Regions from separate parts of the Homo sapiens genome. Here region 2 is linked to region 1. Evidence: promoter capture Hi-C in human tissues and cell types (Jung and others, 2019). All regions are on one chromosome and are shown on one strand. The core of a region is centred on a gene start or on the middle of the fragment in contact, and the rest is flanking DNA. Distances in the headings are between cores, read along the strand shown. Region 1 holds the start of MYPOP (Myb related transcription factor, partner of profilin). Region 2 has its middle 26 kb from the start of PNMA8B.

What was found. Contacts are between HindIII fragments. The study calls those that stand out against the background at their distance.
Region 2: a fragment that was not itself captured here is called in contact with the fragment with the promoter of MYPOP in region 1 in 2 of the 25 tissues and cell types used here (lymphoblastoid cells and mesendoderm cells).

What each region holds. Positions count from the first base shown.
Region 1 is chr19:45,900,946-45,904,230 of GRCh38, reverse strand. MYPOP (Myb related transcription factor, partner of profilin) reads left to right here and starts at 1,618. Exons shown (of 3, transcript NM_001012643.4): 1 at 1,618-1,661; 2 at 2,406-2,956. The coding sequence starts at 2,458. RefSeq lists silencers at 926-1,005, 1,566-1,615 and enhancers at 1,266-1,375, 1,806-1,855. The HindIII fragment of the contact is 9,891 bases long and covers 83-3,285 here.
Region 2 is chr19:46,520,549-46,523,833 of GRCh38, reverse strand. It overlaps the pseudogene PPP5D1P. Among named protein-coding and RNA genes, the nearest start is that of PNMA8B, 26 kb to the right of the region's middle. RefSeq lists a silencer at 1,565-1,744. The HindIII fragment of the contact is 3,757 bases long and covers 1-3,285 here.

The DNA of each region.
Region 1 (3,285 bases), core at 369-2,868:
CTAGCGCGACACTCACCATGCTTTCCATATATTCTCTCAAATGTCTCTCCGTGTCCCCCTTGACACTGTCCCTGTCTTAGTTTAGTCTCCCCTCGCTTTCCTAATCCTTTTCTTACCCCTGCTCATGACTTTTTTTGACTCTACCCAGTAGTCTTGCTCCCTCCCACCCACCCTCCACACAGCAGGCAGAGGGGCCTTTTTTTTCTCTCTCTCTTCTTTTGAGACAGGGTCTTACTCTGTTGCCCAAGCTGGAGAGCAGTGGCCTGATCATAGCTCACTGCAGCCTGCAACTCCTGGGCTCAAGCGATCCTCCCGCCTCAGCCTCCCAAGTAGCTGGGACTACAGGCATGTATTTTTTTTTTTTTTTTTTTTGAGACGGAGTCTCACTCTGTCGTCCAGGTGGAGTGCAGTGGTGCAATCTCAGCTCACTGCAACCTCTGCCTCCCGGGGTTAAGCGATTCTCGTGCCTCAGCCTCCCGAGTAGCTGGGATTACAGGCATGCACCACCATGCCCAGCTAGTTTTTGTATTTTCAGTAGAGATGGGGTTTCACTGTGTTGGCCAGGCTTGTCTCGAACCCCTGACCTCAGGTAATCCGCCCGCCTTGGCTTCCCAAAGTGCTGGGATTACAGGCGTGAGCTCCACCGCGCCCGGCCCAGGCTACGGATTTTAGCTTTTATGTTCATTGTACCAGGAACTGTGTAAGTGCTCATGTATATTTATTGAGTCGATGAATGAAGCACCAATTGTCGAATGACCTTGAGGACTCCTGCAGGATGCTAACGAACACACTTCTCAGCCGGACTGAGCTCCATCATCCTGCCATGCGGCTCACCCCACCTGCGTTCTGGCTTCATTCCTGTCTCCATGCACTTGCTTAAAGTCGTGCCGGCGTCAGGATCTCCCTTCCTACCAGCCAGGAAGCTCTTCCCTCTTATTTTCCCCGCTCCTCGAGGTAAAGGTGCGCACAGAGGGGCCCCCAAGGCGTGACTGGAAGGCTTGTGGGTCGCTATGGTTACTGCATCCGCCCGGGGCGGGACATCCCCAGGACGCCCAGCCTCTAGGGGTGCGAGGTGGGAAGCTCTGGAGCGGCCCAGCGCAGGGGCGGGCAAGCCAGGAGGCAAAGCGGTTTCCTCACGCCTCCACCCCACCCACACAGTTGTCAAGGAGACAAAGCGCTTCCCTTCAGCGCTGTCTCCCTCCCCTTTGGTTAGAGGGCAGGGTGGGCTGGAAGACTGTCCGAAAGGTTGGGTACTGGCGCGCTCCCAGCATCTCTCCCATCCAAGCTCGCAACGCCTGCGCCGAGACCCGGTACCGGGTACAACCCGAGGCACGCGCATGCGCGCGATGGAGTTTTTGCGCGTGCGCCGTTGTGGCCCCAGGAAGCTGGGGTACCCGCGCGGCGCTAACGTTGCGGCTGCGCAGTTGCGGCCTGCTGGTGGGGCTCGGCGGAGCGCAGTTCTGCGCCTGCGCTGTGCTGGGGTAGGTGGGAATGAAACCCTGGCGGTAAGGGCATTGGGGCCGACTGGCCCTGGGCGCGCCTGCGCCTTGGCATGCGGGGCGGCCGGAGGCGGGGCCGAAAGAGGGGAGGGAGGGAGGCGGGGGGTGGGAACAGGCCGCAGAAGCCCGAGCCCTGACCCACCGGCGGCTGCGGCGGAGCCGGTGAGTGACCCGTGGCCCGACTCGGTCCCCACCCTCCGCGACCTTCGCTCTCCCTGCCGTCCCCCGTAGCCTCCGTTGTCTCCTTGTGATACGGGACCCCCGTTATTTCCAGAGCTCCCCTTAATTTCTGGCAATCCCCAGAGCCCCCACAATCCTCGCAGACCCTGATCCCTAATATTTGATCGTTCCAGCTCTTCCAGTGATACAGGAGCTCCCACCTCACCATTATTCCTGGACATCCCTCTAAGGGCCCTTCTCATATCGGTCTTACAGACGCCCCGTTGCCCCCTAGAGCCCCTAGAGCGCCTCCTCTGCTCCAGATTCCCCCCTTCTTGCTGCATCCCCCCTTCCGCATCTCCTTATCTTCATGCATCTAAGACCCCCCCGAGGCACCCCCATCCTCCCTCCATTTCCTATCCTCCCGTGCCCCCATTCTCTAACTCCTGCAGACACCTCCTCTCCTCGCACTTTTCCTCCTTTCCTTCCATCCCTCCAGACCCTCCCCCAATTTCTATCAACTCTTCAGCGTGGCACTTCGCGCCGCGCGAAGTCCGAGCCAAGCGCTCAGCCGGTGTCAGCTACTCTTAGGCGCTTCCGACTTACCCGGGTGCCCGTCGCCCCCGCCCGCCCCCCGCCCCCACTCCTGCCCCCGGGGACTAAGGAGCTCTCGGCCCGGCGGTCTGGGAGAGGCGGCGGCGGGGGGACCCCGAACCCCAGCCAGCCCCGTGCGCCCTTTGCCCGCAGCGCCGGCGCCCCCCATGCGCCAGACGGCAGGACGGCGGCGTCGGGGGGCGCCATGGCCTCGGCGGCGGCGGGCGAAGCGGAGGAAACCACCCGGTTGCGCAAGCCGCGCTTCTCATTCGAAGAGAACCAGATCCTGATCCGCGAGGTGCGCGCCCACTACCCGCAGCTCTACGGCGCGCAGAGCCGTCGGGTGAGCGTGGCAGAGCGGCGGCGCGTGTGGGACGGCATCGCCGCCAAGATCAACGGTATCACCAGCTGGAAGCGCACGGGCCAGGAGGTGCAGAAGCGCTGGAACGACTTCAAGCGCCGCACCAAGGAGAAGCTCGCTCGCGTGCCGCACTCCACGCAGGGCGCCGGGCCCGCCGCGGAGGACGCTTTCTCCGCGGAAGAGGAGACCATTTTTGCCATCCTGGGGCCAGGTGTGGCGGCGCCGGGGGCAGGTGCTGGGGCGGAGGAGCCCCCTGCGGCCCCCTCTTCACAGCCGCCGCCCCCAAGCGCCTGCCCTCAGCGCTACGTGTTGTCGGAAGACCGCCGGGAGGACCGACGTGCAGGTGAGTGTCTTCAGAGTAGGCTGTGTGCCTGCGCTGTTGCAAGCCTTTTACATGTCTCATCAAAGCCTTGCTGCAGCCCTGTGAGGTGGATGCTGTCCTTCGCCCCATTTTATAGCTAGGGAAACTGAAGCTCAGAAAAATGAAATGACTTGCCTCAGTTCCGATAGCTAGTAACTGTCAAGAGCCAGGAATGGAACCAGATTTAGGAGGCCTGACTCAGGTCCACACCTGGGGTCATCAGCACAGGCAGGATTTCATTAAATGCAGTGTCGAGTAGTGACTCTGGAGGCAGGCTGCCTGGGCTCCGATCACAACTTTGCCACTGAACT
Region 2 (3,285 bases), core at 301-2,800, 620 kb before region 1:
TCACTGCAAGTTCCGCCTTCTGGGTTCACGCCATTCTCCTGCTTCAGCCTCCCGAGTAGCTGGAACTACAGGCGCCCGCCACCTAATTTTTTGTATATTTAATAGAGACGGGGTTTCACCATGTTAGCCAGGATGGTCTCAATCTCCTGACCTCGTGATCCGCCCACCTTGGCCTCCCAAAGTGCTGGGATTACAGGCGTGAGCCACCACGCCCGGCTATCTCTCTCCCTTTCTTTCCTTTCTCCTTTCCTTTCTCTCTTTCTTTCTTTCTTTCTTTCTTTCATGGAATCTTGCTCTGTGACCCAGGCTGGAGTATAGTGGCATGATCTCTGCTCACTGCAGCCTCCATCTCCGGGGTTCAAGCAATTCTTGTGCTTCAGCCTGCCAAGTAGCTGGGATTACAGGCACGCACCACCACGCCCTGCTAATTTTTGTATTTTGTATTTTTTTTTTTTTAGTAGAGACGGGGTTTCACCATGTTGCTCAGGCTGGTCTCAAACTCCTGACCTCAAGTGATCTGTCTGCCTCAGTCTCCCAAAGTGCTGGGATTACAGGGGTGAGCCACCGCACCCAGCCAGCTTAGGTTATTTCTTACAAATGCCTCTGATAATCATAAACGAAACTTAAGTTGCCTTCCCCAAATGATATAAGAGGATTGCTTTTAACCAGTCCCGTGCAATCTGGAAACCTCCACTGTATAGACAGTCACTGTAAAGGTTAAACCACTTCCTGATTTTTGCTTTCTCAGCCATCCTGTAACAACATGCCTCTGAGCTTCTTACTACCTGGGTTGAGGTCTCCTGGATTGTGCCCTGTCCCCACTTTTTTTTAATGACAACAAACTTTTAAATATTTATTCATTGGATCTGATTTTGTTTTGGACACTGGCATGCAAAGGGGAGGGAGATGGTCATAGGACTGTTGTCAACGTTCAAAAGCAAAACAGGATTTATATGAGAAAGGTAAGAGAAGGGAGAGAAAACTTCATACTGAAGTCTGGGTGCCCTGGCTCACACCTGTAATCCCAGCTCCTTGGCAGACTAACACGGGAGGATCACTACAGGCCAGGAGGTCAAGGCTACAGTGAGCCATAATCACGCCATTGCACTCCAGTCTGGGCAACAGAGCAAGACTCTGTCTCAAAAAGAAAAGAAAAATACAACTTTTGACTGAAAACAATGAATTGTGTTTTCACATTTTGGGGGTCAAATTGATTATCCAGAAACTAGAAAAGAGCAGGATGACTGGAGGAGTGAAAGAAAGCTTTTTTTTTTTTTTTTTTTTTTAAGAGACAGGTCTTGCTATGTTGCCCAGGCTGGTCTTGAACTCCTGGCCTCAAGCAATCTTCCTGTCTTGGCCTCCCAAGGTGTTGGGATTACAGGCATTAGCCACTGTGCCCAACCAAGAAAGCAATTTCTGATACTTGGGATTTTCCAGAAAACCTGAAGAGCTTAGCTGTGGAGCGTTTGTAGGAGGCTGTCTCCATGACATCTGCTGTGACCTCCTGTTGGCAATGGCCCATAGTTAGCCCAGGTGACCCCATTCCTTCCTCAAGCTTTCCTCAAGGTCTGTTTTTTCGGTTTGTTTGTTGTTTTTGAGATGGAGTCTTGCTCTGTTGCCTAGGCTGGAGTGCAGTGGTGCGATCTTGGCTCACTGCAACCCCCGTCTCCCGGGTTCAAGTGATTCTCTTGCCTCAGCCTCCCGAGTAGCTGGGACTACAGGCGTGGGCCACCACGTCTGGCTAATTTTTGTGTTTTTAGTAGAGATGGGGTTTCACCATGTTGGCCAGGCTGGTCTCGAACTCCTAACTTCAGGTGATCCGCCCACCTCAGCCTCCCAAAGTGCTGGGATTACAGGCGTGAGCCACCGTGCCCGGCCCTTCAAGGTCTATTTTATCTCCTTCTATGTCTATATCCACAGTAATATCTATGTCTACATTGATGTTTATGTCTATATCCATGTCTACGCCCACAGCTCTATCCTAATCTATACCTACACCATAGGGGCTGCTATATCCTTATTGGTAGCTTATCCTCTATCTGCAACTATATCCACATCTCCATCTACATTCAGATCAGTCTCCCTCTCTCTGTCTATGTCTGTGTTCATTTTCTAGAGCTGCTGTCATAAATTCTCACAAACTTGGTGGCTAAAAATAACAGACGCTTATTTTCTCACAGTTCCGGAGGCCAGATGTTCAAAACAAAGATGCCAGCAGGGCCTTGTTGGCTCTGAAGGTTCTATGGGAGAATCCTTTCTTGCCTCCTCCAGCTTCTGGGGGCTCTTGATGTCTCTTGGCTCCAGTCTCTGGCCTTCTCTTCTTCTCTGTGTCTTTTCTTTTGCTGTGTCTTTTTTTTGGAGGGGGCGGGACAGGGACAGAGTCTCGCTCCATCGTCCAGGCTGGAGTGCAGTGGCTGGCGCGATCTCGGCTCACTGCAACCTCCGCCTCCCGGGTTTAAGCGATTCTTCCACCTCTGCGTCCCAAGTAGCTGGAATTACAATTGCCTGCCACCATGCCTGGCTAATTTTTGTATTTTTAGTAGAGACGGTTTTCACCATGTTGGCCAAGGCTGGTCCTGAACCCCTGATCTCAAGTGATCTGCCCACCTCAGCCTCTCAAAGTGCTGGGATTACAGACATGAGTCACCGCGTCCAGCCAGGTTTCACTTATTTCTGTAGATTCTTGGTCCAACCAACAAGTTTCCCACAATTTATTGCATTATTTAAAAAAATATCTATCATCATAAAAATAATACGTCTGATATTATTTTTCTATAATATTCTAGGCATTATTATATAATATTCTAGGTGGTATTATTATTCTAGGCATACTATTAAACACAGAAAGAAAGACACGGAGGTCAGCAGCCTTCAAAGATGGCTACTAACAATTCCTCCCTTCCCTGTACACACGCATCACTCCTCCCATCACCAGGGGGGTCTACTTCCCCTCCCCTCCATTCTGGGCAGGCCTCGTGACTTGTTTTGACCAATAGAATGTAGCAGAGTGATGCGTCAATTTCAAGCCTAGGCCTTAAGAGTCCAGGAGACTCCCACTCTTACTCACGTGCATGCCAGCTGCCATCTTGCAAGGAAGCTAAAGCTGGGTTACAAAATAGTGAAAGCCCAGGTGAATGCAGAGAGGCTGTGTGGGGGAGAATCAGCCTATTACCAGCTGACATTAGCCACACAAGTGACCGAGGGAGAGACCAGCAGCAGAACCACGCAGTCAACCCTCTGAATGCTAGTAAGTCATTGTTTGAAGCCCCTAAACTCTAGCGGGTT